2 separate regions of the Homo sapiens genome follow, and region 1 is linked to region 2. Evidence: promoter capture Hi-C in 16 types of primary human blood cells and fetal thymus (Javierre and others, 2016). All regions are on one chromosome and are shown on one strand. Each heading gives the region's core, a stretch centred on a gene start or on the middle of the fragment in contact. The rest is flanking DNA. Distances are from core to core; before and after follow the strand shown.

What was found. Contacts are between HindIII fragments. The CHiCAGO score rates a contact against its expected background, and 5 or more counts as called.
Region 1: a fragment that was not itself captured here is called in contact with the fragment with the promoter of EFCC1 in region 2 in 1 of 17 cell types (total B cells); the score reaches 7.6 in total B cells.

What each region holds. Positions count from the first base shown.
Region 1 is chr3:129,270,001-129,276,007 of GRCh38, forward strand. COPG1 (coat protein complex I subunit gamma 1) reads left to right here. Exons shown (of 24, transcript NM_016128.4): 19 at 1,767-1,909; 20 at 2,244-2,415; 21 at 2,807-2,904; 22 at 4,838-4,976; 23 at 5,194-5,292. It overlaps MIR6826 (microRNA 6826), which reads left to right and starts at 2,146; the gene lies at 2,146-2,243. The HindIII fragment of the contact is 6,063 bases long and covers 1,451-6,007 here.
Region 2 is chr3:128,999,557-129,005,368 of GRCh38, forward strand. It overlaps EFCC1 (EF-hand and coiled-coil domain containing 1), which reads left to right and starts at 1,748. Exons shown (of 8, transcript NM_001377500.1): 1 at 1,748-2,768; 2 at 4,238-4,521. The coding sequence starts at 2,073. It also overlaps a transcript of CFAP92 not described here. The HindIII fragment of the contact is 12,645 bases long and covers 1-5,812 here.

The DNA.
Region 1 (6,007 bases), core at 3,232-5,731, 270 kb after region 2:
TAGGGCAGAAGGTCAGAGTAGAGTGATTTGAAGAGGCCACACTCCTGGCCTTTTCAAATCTCTCTACTCTGACCTTCTGCCCTAGAAGGGCCCTTATGATTACACTGGCCCCCCCTGGATAATCCAGGATAACCCCTAGCTCAAGATCCTTAATTTAATCACATCTACAAAGTCCCTTTTACCATGCAAGGTAACATAGCTGCAGGTTCTGGGAATTAGCATGTGGGCATCTTGGAGTCATTATTCTGCCACACCTTCCAAGGAAGTCTCCTAAGCCGCTTAAAGGGTAACAATTCCATTTTTAAACAATCATCCAAAAGCCTCACATTTACTAATCACATACATGTTCAGTTCCAAGAACTTTCCTAGATCTTGAATTTATTGCCTCATTTGTCTTTACAACAACGCTGTGATCAAGATAATGATATCAGTTTTATTGATGAAGAGTCTGAAACCCTACCAACAGAATCCCCCAGGGAGTAAGTATCAGGCCCAAAACTCTGAGTCCCAAGAAAATAAATATCAATAGAAAAGCACTCTAGTGGTTGATGGTCATGGTGGCCCAAAAGTTCCTCCTAATATCTAGCCTGGATTGTTCTGGGCTTTTTATTGCCTGCATATTCATTAGATTCAGTCTTCAGGCTGCAGAGGGCTGAAGTGGTCACATAGGCTGACTTTTTGTGGAGGAAAAAAGCAAAATAATAAAAATAAGGCCTACCTTTCTCTATGTCTGAAACGTGAATTGAGTACCTTCTAAGTAAAGGGAAAAATATCAGATCCATGGCCTCAAAGCACAATCCCTGTTCTCATGGAGTTCAATTAATTGGGAAGACAAGTTGAAAATCTTAGAGCAGTGGTCTTTAAATATCAGTATATATTGGAATAATCTGAGGAAACATGTTAGAAATGCAAATTCCTTGATCCTGAAACCAGAGATTCTGATGTAGTAGATTTGGGATGGAGTCTGAGTTTTTAGCAAGCTCTGCCGCCAACCCCTAGTAATTCTGATACAGTTGATCCATGGTCATAGTGCGAGGAATCCTGCCATAGAATAGGTACAAGAGTGGCAGCTGTAGCCATTATAGGTGGACACCATGTGCACACATCTGCCAGATGCCTCATTCACTTGGGTTATTCCCTTTAGTTTGCAAGGAATGCCAGGACCAGCCAGGGTGGGGTCCCATGGGCCTGTGCTTGAATCCAGTGCTTGAACCTGGGCATAGGGTGTAGGGATAGGTCTTACCAGACACAAACAATTCTAAGTTAGGTTTTCTGCAACACTCTCATTCTGAAATATCTCTTTATTGGCCATTTGTCTTAACTGATAAATATATAGGACCAGTTTGTTATTTTGTCTGATTTTGTAGCTATAGCAGTATCGATCTTATTTTCCTAATTGTCACCTTCTTTTAAGAATCCTTGCTGCGGTAGGGGGCGGAAATCCTTGCTAAGCTTCTATAGCTGGGGGATTCTCCAATTAGGTCTAGGATTTTGTGGTCTCATATCAGTTTTTTGCTTCTGAGGTCTTTCATGGTACAGAGATGGGGAGAGTATTTGTGGGGGGTTGTGCCACATGAGCGAAGTCAGGGAGATGAGAAAATGCATGGATATATTCAGGAAATAATGAGTAGCCAGTTGGGTAAACATATCTATCCATCTAAGGTAGGGTGGAACACCTTGAGAATGGTCATGGGAATTTATTAGAAACCATCAACAAGTTGGTCTGGGGATCGAGAAGCTGAGTGAATGTGGCCTGTGGATTTCAGAGCAGTTGGCAGCAGTGCCAGAGTTCCGCGGTCTTGGGCCCCTCTTCAAGTCCTCGCCTGAGCCCGTGGCCCTCACCGAGTCAGAGACGGAGTATGTCATCCGCTGCACCAAACACACCTTCACCAACCACATGGTTTTTCAGGTGAGCAAGGTGGGCTGAGGCCCTGCTGGGGCATGCGCCCAGGGAGTTGTCCCAGGTCTGGCAGGTCCTGTAGGGTCATGGGTCCCCACACTGCATTGGTTGGGAGCCCAACTTGATGACAGAATCTGTCCCCAACAGGTCGGTCTCTCATATCTCTTGACTCGGGACATCCATGGCTCCCGATTGTCAGCATGAAGACAGGGAACCTGGGGCAGGGGGACTGGGATGGGAATCACCTTGGTCAATAGGAAAGAGGTGGGACCTCCTGGCTTTTCCTCTGCAGCATGGCTCGGACCTAGTGCAATGTTTAAGCTCCCCTCTCTTTCCTGTTCAGTTTGACTGCACAAACACACTCAATGACCAGACCTTGGAGAATGTCACAGTGCAGATGGAGCCCACTGAGGCCTATGAGGTGCTCTGTTACGTGCCTGCCCGGAGCCTGCCCTACAACCAGCCCGGGACCTGCTACACACTGGTGGCACTGCCCAAAGAAGACCCCACAGCTGGTGAGCCCCTCTCCAGATACCACCCTATCCTCCTGGGAGCTCATGGGGTCAGGAGGAGGTGGGCGGCTGGGCACCAGCTGTTTGCCTTCTATTAGAGCTTCAGCTCCTTGATTTCAGTCCCAAGAAGAAGAATAGCTGAGTCCCAAGTGCTCTTCTTTAAAAATTTTTTTTTTTAAAGAGACAGGATCTCACTAGAACTCATGACTTTCCTGTCCTACAAGGTGGCACCCTCTGTCCAGCTTTGTGGGATTGGATGGCTTGTTGCTGCTACTAATAACATAGCAGGGGCCTAGAAAGCAGGCTGTGACCCCTGCCTGCTTGTCCCCTGCAGGAGGAGCCCATCCCCTGCAGGCTGGGGACATCCTAACTACCCAGCCTCTCTTCCCCACAGTGGCCTGCACATTCAGCTGCATGATGAAGTTCACTGTCAAGGACTGTGATCCCACCACTGGGGAGACTGATGACGAAGGCTATGAGGATGAGTATGTGGTAAGATCCTGGTGTCAGGAAGCTCAGTTTTGTGCTGAGGCTGCAAAGCAACTCCCTTCAGGAACTGACAGTGAGACTGGAGCTGTTTTTGGCTTTTTAGCTCTTTAAAATTTTATTTTTTTATTTTTATTTTTTGAGATGAAGTTTCTCTTTTGTTACCCAGGCTGGAGTGCAGTGGCGCGATCTCGGCTCACTGCAACCTCTGTCTCCCTGGTCCAAGCGATTCTCTTGCCTCAGCCTCCCAAGTAGCTGGGATTACAGGCGCCCACCACCATGCCTGCCAAATTTTTTGTATTTTTGGTAGAGATAGGGTTTCACCATGTTGGCTAGGCTGGTCGCGATCTCCTCACCTCAGGTGATCCACCTACCTTGGCCTCCCAAAGTGTTGGGATTACAGGCGTGAGCCACCGCGCCCGGCCTAAAATAACTTTTTAAACTTATGGAAATACATGTTCATGTGTAAAAAGAAAACTTGGGAAATACAAAAACAAAATTCAAAACAAAGTATGAACAACAGGAAAACATTACTCATAATCCTTAGAGTTATTTTTGGGGGGAAGTGGTATAATTGAAATCATTCTTACAGTGTAGACCTTGCTATTTTAAAACCATAGTGTATTTTCCAGTATCATTACAAATACTTCATAAACACAATTTTTTTAGTGGATTTAAAATACTGTTATATACTATGTCAAAACTTGATTGACTTTTCACTCCTTTAATGTTGGGCATTTGGGTTTCCATATTTTCACTATTTATATTGCTGCATTAAATATCCCTTTAGATACAAATTTTTATCTGCATTTTAGATTATTTCTTTAGGATAGATTCCTAGAAGGAGAATAGTTGGGTCAAAGGGTAAGCATGATTTTAAGACATTTTGATTCCTCTTGTCAAATGCTTTCTGGATAAATTTGACCTGTTTGCTGTGCTGGGCAGTCCTTTCATGCACTGGAATAGCCCTTCTAAATTCTCCTATCTTAGCTCGGTGGAACTAAGTACAGGATCCTTCTGAGGTCTGACTTTGGGGCAGTGGCTCAGGGCCATCTGAGTGCAGACCATTATGCTCAGCCTGTGGATGGGGACTGTTAGAACTCCTCCTGACTAGAGGGACAGTCACAGTGGAATACAACTGACATTCGCCATTGTGTCATCCTAGAGTCACAGTTGAGGATGGATGGACCTTCCTTGAGCTGGAAATGACCCCGAGGCAGGAGCTGCTCTAAGACCAAGTGAGCTCCTTGAGAGAGCTGGGTCTGTTTGAGCCCATCCAGAGATGAAGAAAAAAAAAAAAGAGAGAGAGAGCTGGGTCTAAGTTGTATTTATATACACTGTAAACATCCACAGGAGTAGGGCCTCAGTGAAAATCTGATGGGAGAATGAATGGGGAACCTTCATGTAGACTCAGTGGGAGTATTATGTGTCAAGTTCAGGGAAGACACAGCTGAAATGGAGATAGAGATTCAGGATCTGTCAAATCCAGAGGACACAGCTGGGGTAGGAGGTTTCTGCTAGTTTCTGCTGAACTAGAAACAGCTGCTGGTCCTGAAGAGCTCATCATCCCCTAGGAGGGACAGGCATAGGAAGCAGACCTCTGAGAATGCTATGTAATTCCCTGCATGCCAGGTCCTGGAAGCACTGACACTAGGCAGGCTTAGAAGAGATGTGATCTCACAGCAGGCGGCTCTAGGCTGAATTAGTAGATTGGTACTTGGGATTAGGGCGTTTTCTGTTGAAGGGATACCATTTGCCTTTGGGCACCTCAAGGATAGGTACCTGGTCAAGTTGCTCTATGTCCCCAGAGTCTAGCACAGTCCTCAGTGCCGAGCAAGCACCTGTGGAAAGAGTTGCAGGAAGGGATGTGTGGATGAGTTCAGAGCAGAGGCCCGTAGGTGTGTAGATGGGTGCCTGATTTCTACCTCCATCTCTCCAGCTGGAAGATCTGGAAGTTACTGTAGCTGATCACATTCAAAAGGTCATGAAACTGAACTTCGAAGCAGCCTGGGATGAGGTAGGGGATGAATTTGAGAAGGAGGAAACGTTCACCTTGTCTACCATCAAGACACTTGAAGGTAAAATCCTGGGAATGCCATCTCTGGCCTAATTACTGTTCAAGATCTTTGGCTACTATTGAAGTGCTCATCCCTTTTCTCTCCAAGGATCCAGGGCCATGTCTGGAGCACATATGTCAAATGCCACTTCATTAAAAGCCCTTCAGAACATGGGGGAGTGGTGGTGGCACAAAGGGCAGATAAGATGGCTTAACAATATTGGGATTTCTCATTACAGAGGCTGTGGGTAATATTGTGAAGTTCTTGGGAATGCACCCTTGTGAGAGGTCAGACAAAGTGCCGGATAACAAGAACACCCACACGTTGCTCCTGGCTGGTAAGTGGCATTTCTAGATGGGGAGGGCCTGGATAGCTTACAGCCTGGATGCCACTGGATCCTGGGCTAAGGACTCCACTGTAAATATGGGGAGTCAAAATTCACAGCATTTAAAATTCACAAAGTATAAAATAATCTGCAGCGAAATGTTTCCTCCCTACCTTGGCTGCCAGCCATTCAGATTCCCTTCCGAGAAGCGACCAGTGTTACTATTACAAACAATACTTGTATAACCTTGCGGTTATTTTATGGCTATAAAAGCTAATAGGAACGCATTTCCTTTTTTTAACTCAAATGTTTATGTACAAATGGTATATATATTGTCCTCCGATTTGCTTTTCACTTTACATTGCATCTTAGAGATCTTCCCCGTCAATATGTAGAGCTTCCTCATTCTTTTTCTTTTAATTGTGGTAAAATATACATAAAATTCACCATTTCGACCATTTTCAAGTGTATGGTTCAGCGGCATTAAGTACATTCACACTATTGTAAAACTATGACCACCATCCATCTCCAGAACTTTTTTCATCCCAAACTGAATCCTCATTTTTTTTATAGTTGCTTAGTATTCCATTGTGTGGATGCACCACATATTCTATGGAACAGCCACTACTGATGAACATTTAGTTTGATTTCAATCTCTTGCTATTACAGATGTTACAGTAAATAATCGTGTACACACACACACACACACACACACACAGTTTACTTT
Region 2 (5,812 bases), core at 498-2,997:
GAGACGGAGTCTCGCTCTGTCGCCCAGGCTGGAGTGCAATGGCAGGATCTCAGCTTACTGCAACCTCCGCCTCCCAGGTTCAAGCGATTCATCTGCCTCAGCCTCCCAAGTAACTGGGATTACAGGCGCCTGCCACCACGCCCAGCTAACTTTTGGTATTTTTAGTAGAGATGGGGGTGGTTCACTATGTTGTCCAGGCTGTTCTCGAACTCTTGACCTCAGGCAATCCACCCGCCTCGGCCTCCCAAAGTGGTGGGATTACAGGCGTGAGCCACCGCGACCGGCCAAGAAAAAGAAACACATGAGAACATCTTAACAAAAGGGAAATACTGCAGTGTCTCCCATCTGCAGAAAGAACCACTGAATCCACTTATGAATCCCTCCATCTTCTTCTGTGCACTCACATACACATGTCCTAGTAGAAAATACTTAGTATTGTTTTGTGTGTTTTTGTTCTTGTTATGTAAGCATCAGTGTTGTGCATAATCAGCTTGTGGCTTGCTGTGTCCGCTCATCCTCGTTTGCTGAGTCCTAGCTGATTTGATGGACACCAGGTTGTCTCCAGTTTCTCACTGTAATAAACAATGATGCAGTGAACATCCTGTGCACAGTGGCTTTCGAAGGTAGAAGCCAAGAAGTGGACGTGATGTAAAAACTTTGTCAAATTGCCATTACTTTTATAATTAAAAACAAACCTAAAAGAATATGTCCAAAATGCTTGGGGAGAAGCCTCTAACTCCTTCCCAGCAGATATGTACTCTGGGCAAAGCCTTCAAGAACAAGTACGAATTTGCCAAATGGACAACGTGCTGATTCTGGGATACTGTGGCAGAGGAGACAGAATGCTATCGCTTTTCAAACGGCAAGATTTTACATTTAAACTCACAGAGTTATCCACAAGGCAAGATTCTGTCTCTGTCATAGCTAGGAACAGCTGAAGAGTCTGCCTCTTGCTCCAACATGGCTGGGTACCGTGGCTGGATAACCGTTCCCGGTGCAGGTAACAGGTGGACAATATCACAATATCACTGCACCCCTCTCGTGAAAAAGAAAGGGAACACAGTCTAGCACTCACCAGAGAAGCAGGTTTTTCTTCATCTTCCAGAAATGTGTTCTAAAACACCAGAAAAAAACATCAGCCAATCATCGACCTGTTAACCTAACCCCAGCTCAAGAGATGGAACTCGGATCCCATTGCCAAGTCAGCACCGGCAGGCACAAAGGTGGCAGGGCCGGGAGACACCACTTTCCCGAGAGTCCTATCCCCACCCCCAACAGGGATCGGGAGAGAGCAGTTAGCACAGGGCTCGTCTCAGATGGGCTTCTCACCAGCGGGGTGCCCCTAACCTAGACCCCTTGCCTCTCCAAGCCTGTTTCCCTCTCTTTCCCAGTTACTACTTGGGGCTCTTTGCACGGTCTATGGTGGCACAAGAAGTGGGTTCGGAAACCCAGTAGCTGAATTGAAGCGGAGGGGAGGCTTTTCCGCACCTACGGCTACAGGGCGGCGAGAGCAGGCTTGCCAGGCAACCCTCGAAAGGCCTTCCGGGAAGAGGGGGAAGAGTGACGCTTGGGTGTGGGGGCACATCCCCAGCAACCGGACGAGGCCGCCACCCCCAAGGCCCTCCTGGGCTTCGGATCCCGCGCCAACCCCTCGCCCAGGTCTCGGAGCGAACTCTCCGCGCCAGGCGGGCGGGGCGGAGGGAGGAGGGAGTTGAGAGTGGACGGCCGGGAGTGGGAGGAAAAGCGCAGACGCCAGGAACGCCCCGTGAGTGAGGAGAGGAGAGCGTGGGAGTCACGCGGAGAAGCCAGACCCAGACGCCGACCGGGCACTGGTGGCGCTGCCGGGGTCCCGGGGGTTCCTGGACCCCCTACCCCAGGCCCCTCCAAAGCAACTGGGGTAAACCAGACGCACTGTGAGGCCAGCGCAGCTGCTGGACACGGTCCCCGGCGCCGCTCCAACCAGACCGCGACCGCTAAGCCCCTCCTTTCGAGAAACTCTGGGGCCGCCCCTGGAAGTGGCGGGGCGAAGGGACCGGAGGAGGGACCGGAGGAGCGAGGCGCGCGGCGCAGCGATGGAGCCGGTCAGCACGGGCGCGGAGGCCGGCATGGAGGGCGCGGGAGGTGACCCGTACCGGCGACCTGCGCGGCGCACGCAGTGGCTGCTGAGCGCCCTGGCGCACCACTACGGGCTGGACCGCGGCGTGGAGAACGAGATCGTGGTGCTGGCCACCGGCCTGGACCAGTACCTGCAGGAGGTCTTCCACCACCTGGACTGCCGCGGCGCCGGCCGTCTGCCCCGCGCCGACTTCCGAGCGCTCTGCGCTGTGCTGGGGCTGCGCGCGGAGGGGGCCACCACGGCCGGGCAGGCAGCAGGTGACGGGAACTCCAGAGATGTGACCCCCGGGGATGCGGCCGCTGAGTTGGCCACGGACGGGGACTCAGATACCGATGAAGAGGCGCGCCTGGCGCTGCGCGCCGAGCCGCCGGAGCTCACCTTCCGCCAGTTCCACGCGCGCCTCTGTGGCTACTTCGGCACCCGTGCGGGGCCCCGGCTGCCCCGCGGCGCTCTCAGCGAGCACATCGAGACGCAGATCCGCCTGCGCCGTCCGCGCCGCCGCCGCCGCCCGCCCTGCGCGCCTGGCCCCGACAGCGGTCCTGACTGTGAGCGCGTTGCGCGGCTGGAGGAGGAGAATAGCAGCTTGCGCGAGTTGGTGGAGGACCTGCGCGCCGCGCTGCAGAGCAGTGATGCGCGCTGCCTAGCACTGCAGGTGCGCGCCGGCCACGAAGGGAGGGTGGTAACGCCCGGGAGAGGGCTCGAACTAAAAGCTGGCTGGCTGCGGAGCCCGACAGGACAGAGTCAGAGGAAGGGGAGACAGAGGGCAGCCCCACACCATCCCACTCCGCATCAGCACACTTGCATCTTGCCCCTGTTCCTCCCCATTCCACTCCAGTCCCCAACCCTATTCTTACCACCTATTCCATTCCTGAAAACCCCAATCACACTCAAACAACCATACCCCACTTTTCTGCTCCACCGCCACATCATCGCGTCTTGCCCCTTTAACCTAGGAATTGCACCTGTCTGGGTAGTCTCACATATTCCCTTTCAACAAGCATCTTTCTCTCTCCTTCCTGCCAGGCTTCTGGGAGGTTTAGGAGACAGAAGTGTGAAGAAGGCCCTGTCCTCACCTTTAGGGATATCCCTGCCTCCTGGGGTAGACTGACAGCTCCTTCTGTCAATCAGCAAAGACTTATGGGGCTCCCTGTGGGAGAAACAGAGACAAGTGAGAAACAGACAATGTGGCTCACACTGTGGATCAGGCACTCACGGGCCACCAAGTGCCTGCGGGAACCAGACCCGCTCTGGGCTATTGAGAAGAAACCATGGGGTGAGATAGGGACCCAGCCTTAGCATCTGGGAGCCGTCGACAAACACTTAAGCACTGTGCCAGCCGAGCACCAAGGGCAGTGCTGGGCCGCAGGGGTCAGAGGAGGAAAGGAACAGCCCCTACCCCAGGCGACAACAGGCCAGGAAGAAACTGACATTATATGACCCCGCCTTAGCTCAGGACACTGCAGAGTGCAGGGAAGTGGCAAGGTGTGGTTTTCAGTGTCAGTGTGCATGGAAGCCAGGGTGGAGGCGGGAAACTACTCCTCTGATGTGGAATCCCAAGTAACGTACTGGGAGCCATGGGATGCGCCTGAACGGTCTTCCGGCATCTCTCATGCTTGGTATTTATTGAGCACCTACTATGTGCCAGGTTTGTTTTAGGCTCTGGGAACACACCAGTAAAGACAGATAGAAACCACCCTCAAAAGCCTCTAGTGAGCAGGCACGGGGAGGGCTGGAAATGCCACTGGGGGGAGTCTAGGAGATGAGGAACCGCCACCCGGCAGGCTGAACGCCGCCAATACAGTAGGCCGAGAAGAGTCGCGAGGTTGGTACTATAGAGGGAACAGAATACAGGCGTCGTGTCTCAGTTTCCTTCAGTGAAAAAACGTTGGGGGGTGGGGGATGAGGAGGAATCAGAGCTTGGGCCTCCCTGGGGATGTGGCGAGGGTTAAAGGAGCTTGGACGCACCGGACCTAAGGGCCTGGCACCCGGAAGCAGACGGCGCAAGAAACGTGCTCAAGCGCTTCTGGGTGCAGAGGCATGGGGCCGCCGTCGTGGCGGGCGTTCGTCTGGTGCATCTGGCTGGGGCACTTACCCCCTGCCCCTGCTGCCCTGTCCCCGCAGGTCGGACTCTGGAAGAGCCAGGCGAGCACCCACGAGATGGGGCACGGCGGGCCGGAGGCTGCGGTGCGGGAGCTGCGTCAGGCGCAGGGCGCCCTGGCTGCGGCGGAGGCCCGCGCTGGGCGGCTGCGCCGTGGCCAGGCCGAGGTGCGGCGGCGCGCGGAGGAGGCCCGGCAGGTGGTGCTGCGCAGCCTGCACCGCGTGCGAGAGCTGGAGGCGCTGGCGCAACAGGTGCCCGGCTTGCAGCGCTGGGTGCGGCGGCTGGAGGCGGAGCTGCAACGCTACAGGTGAGCGGGGGCGCGTGCCCTGGGCCCAAGTTCCCCAATTCGGCTCCCATTTTCCCAAACTTCGGGTGTGCAATCCCCCTCCCACGCGCTCTCGTGTTCCGCAGTTTCTCCATGCGTTTATTCATGTATTCTTTCATTCCTTTGTCAGTTCTCCATTTCTTAAGTTATAAGTCTGCTCCATTGCTTGCTCTGCAACCATCTGCCCACCCATCCATTTATCCATCCATCTGTCCATCCATTCACCCACCCCACACACCCACCCATCCATCCATCCATTTGTCCATTCACTCACCCCCCCCACCCACCCATCCATCCACTCACCCATCCATCCACTCACCCATTCATCCATCCACCTATCCACTCACCTACCCACCCGTCCATCCATCTATTCATCCATCCACTCACTCACCCACCCATCCACTCACCCACCCACCCATCCATCATCCATCCATCCCCCCACCCACCCAGCCAGCCAGCCGTCCATCCATCCTCCTGTTCATCCACAAACACCCTCTATTTGTTTATCATAGATTGCAGTTGAATGTGCTCATTCTTATTTGTTCCTGGATTCGATCATAATGATAATAGCTTACAGTTACTAAGCACTCGCTGTTTGCCAGGCCTTGAGCTAAGTACTTTATGTGGCTTAACTCATTTAAGCCTCACAGCTGCCCTGTGAGGTGGGTACTGCTATGTTTCCACTCTGTAGATGAGGAAACAGGTGTGTAATGACTGCCTGTGCTAGCTCCACCAGGGCAGGAAGCTGGACTTGGGACCCAGGTTCAAATCTTGGCAGGGCTTTTGGCAGACGTGTGAGTGTGGGCAAGTCACCACCCCTCACAGACCCTGCTTCCTCTTGGGTGGAACACAGATTGGGGTCCCTGCCTGTGGGAGTGGCTGTGAAGAGGCCATGAGGTCCTGCCTGGCACATGGTAGATGCTTGGTAGACAGAGCCTCTCTCCCTTTCAAATCACAAGTCACCCCTGCCTGCTGGCCGGCCTGACTACACATTTGCTGAGCACTTTCTGTGTGCCAGGGGCCATCCCAGGCATCAGGGATGTGACCACGTGACTAGGACAGACTGAATTCCCTGCCCTGAGCAGCCACCTGTGAGCAGGTGAGACCTTCACAGGAACAGATGCGTGGCAGCAGGCAGGAGGTGGGGGACACTCATCAGCCTGCCCCCAAAGAAGTGACACTTGAGGATAGGATGTTACCGGGCCAGATGGAGAGAGGAGAAGAGAGAACATTCCATTCTAGAAAATTGGAACAGTACGGGCAAAGCCCTAGG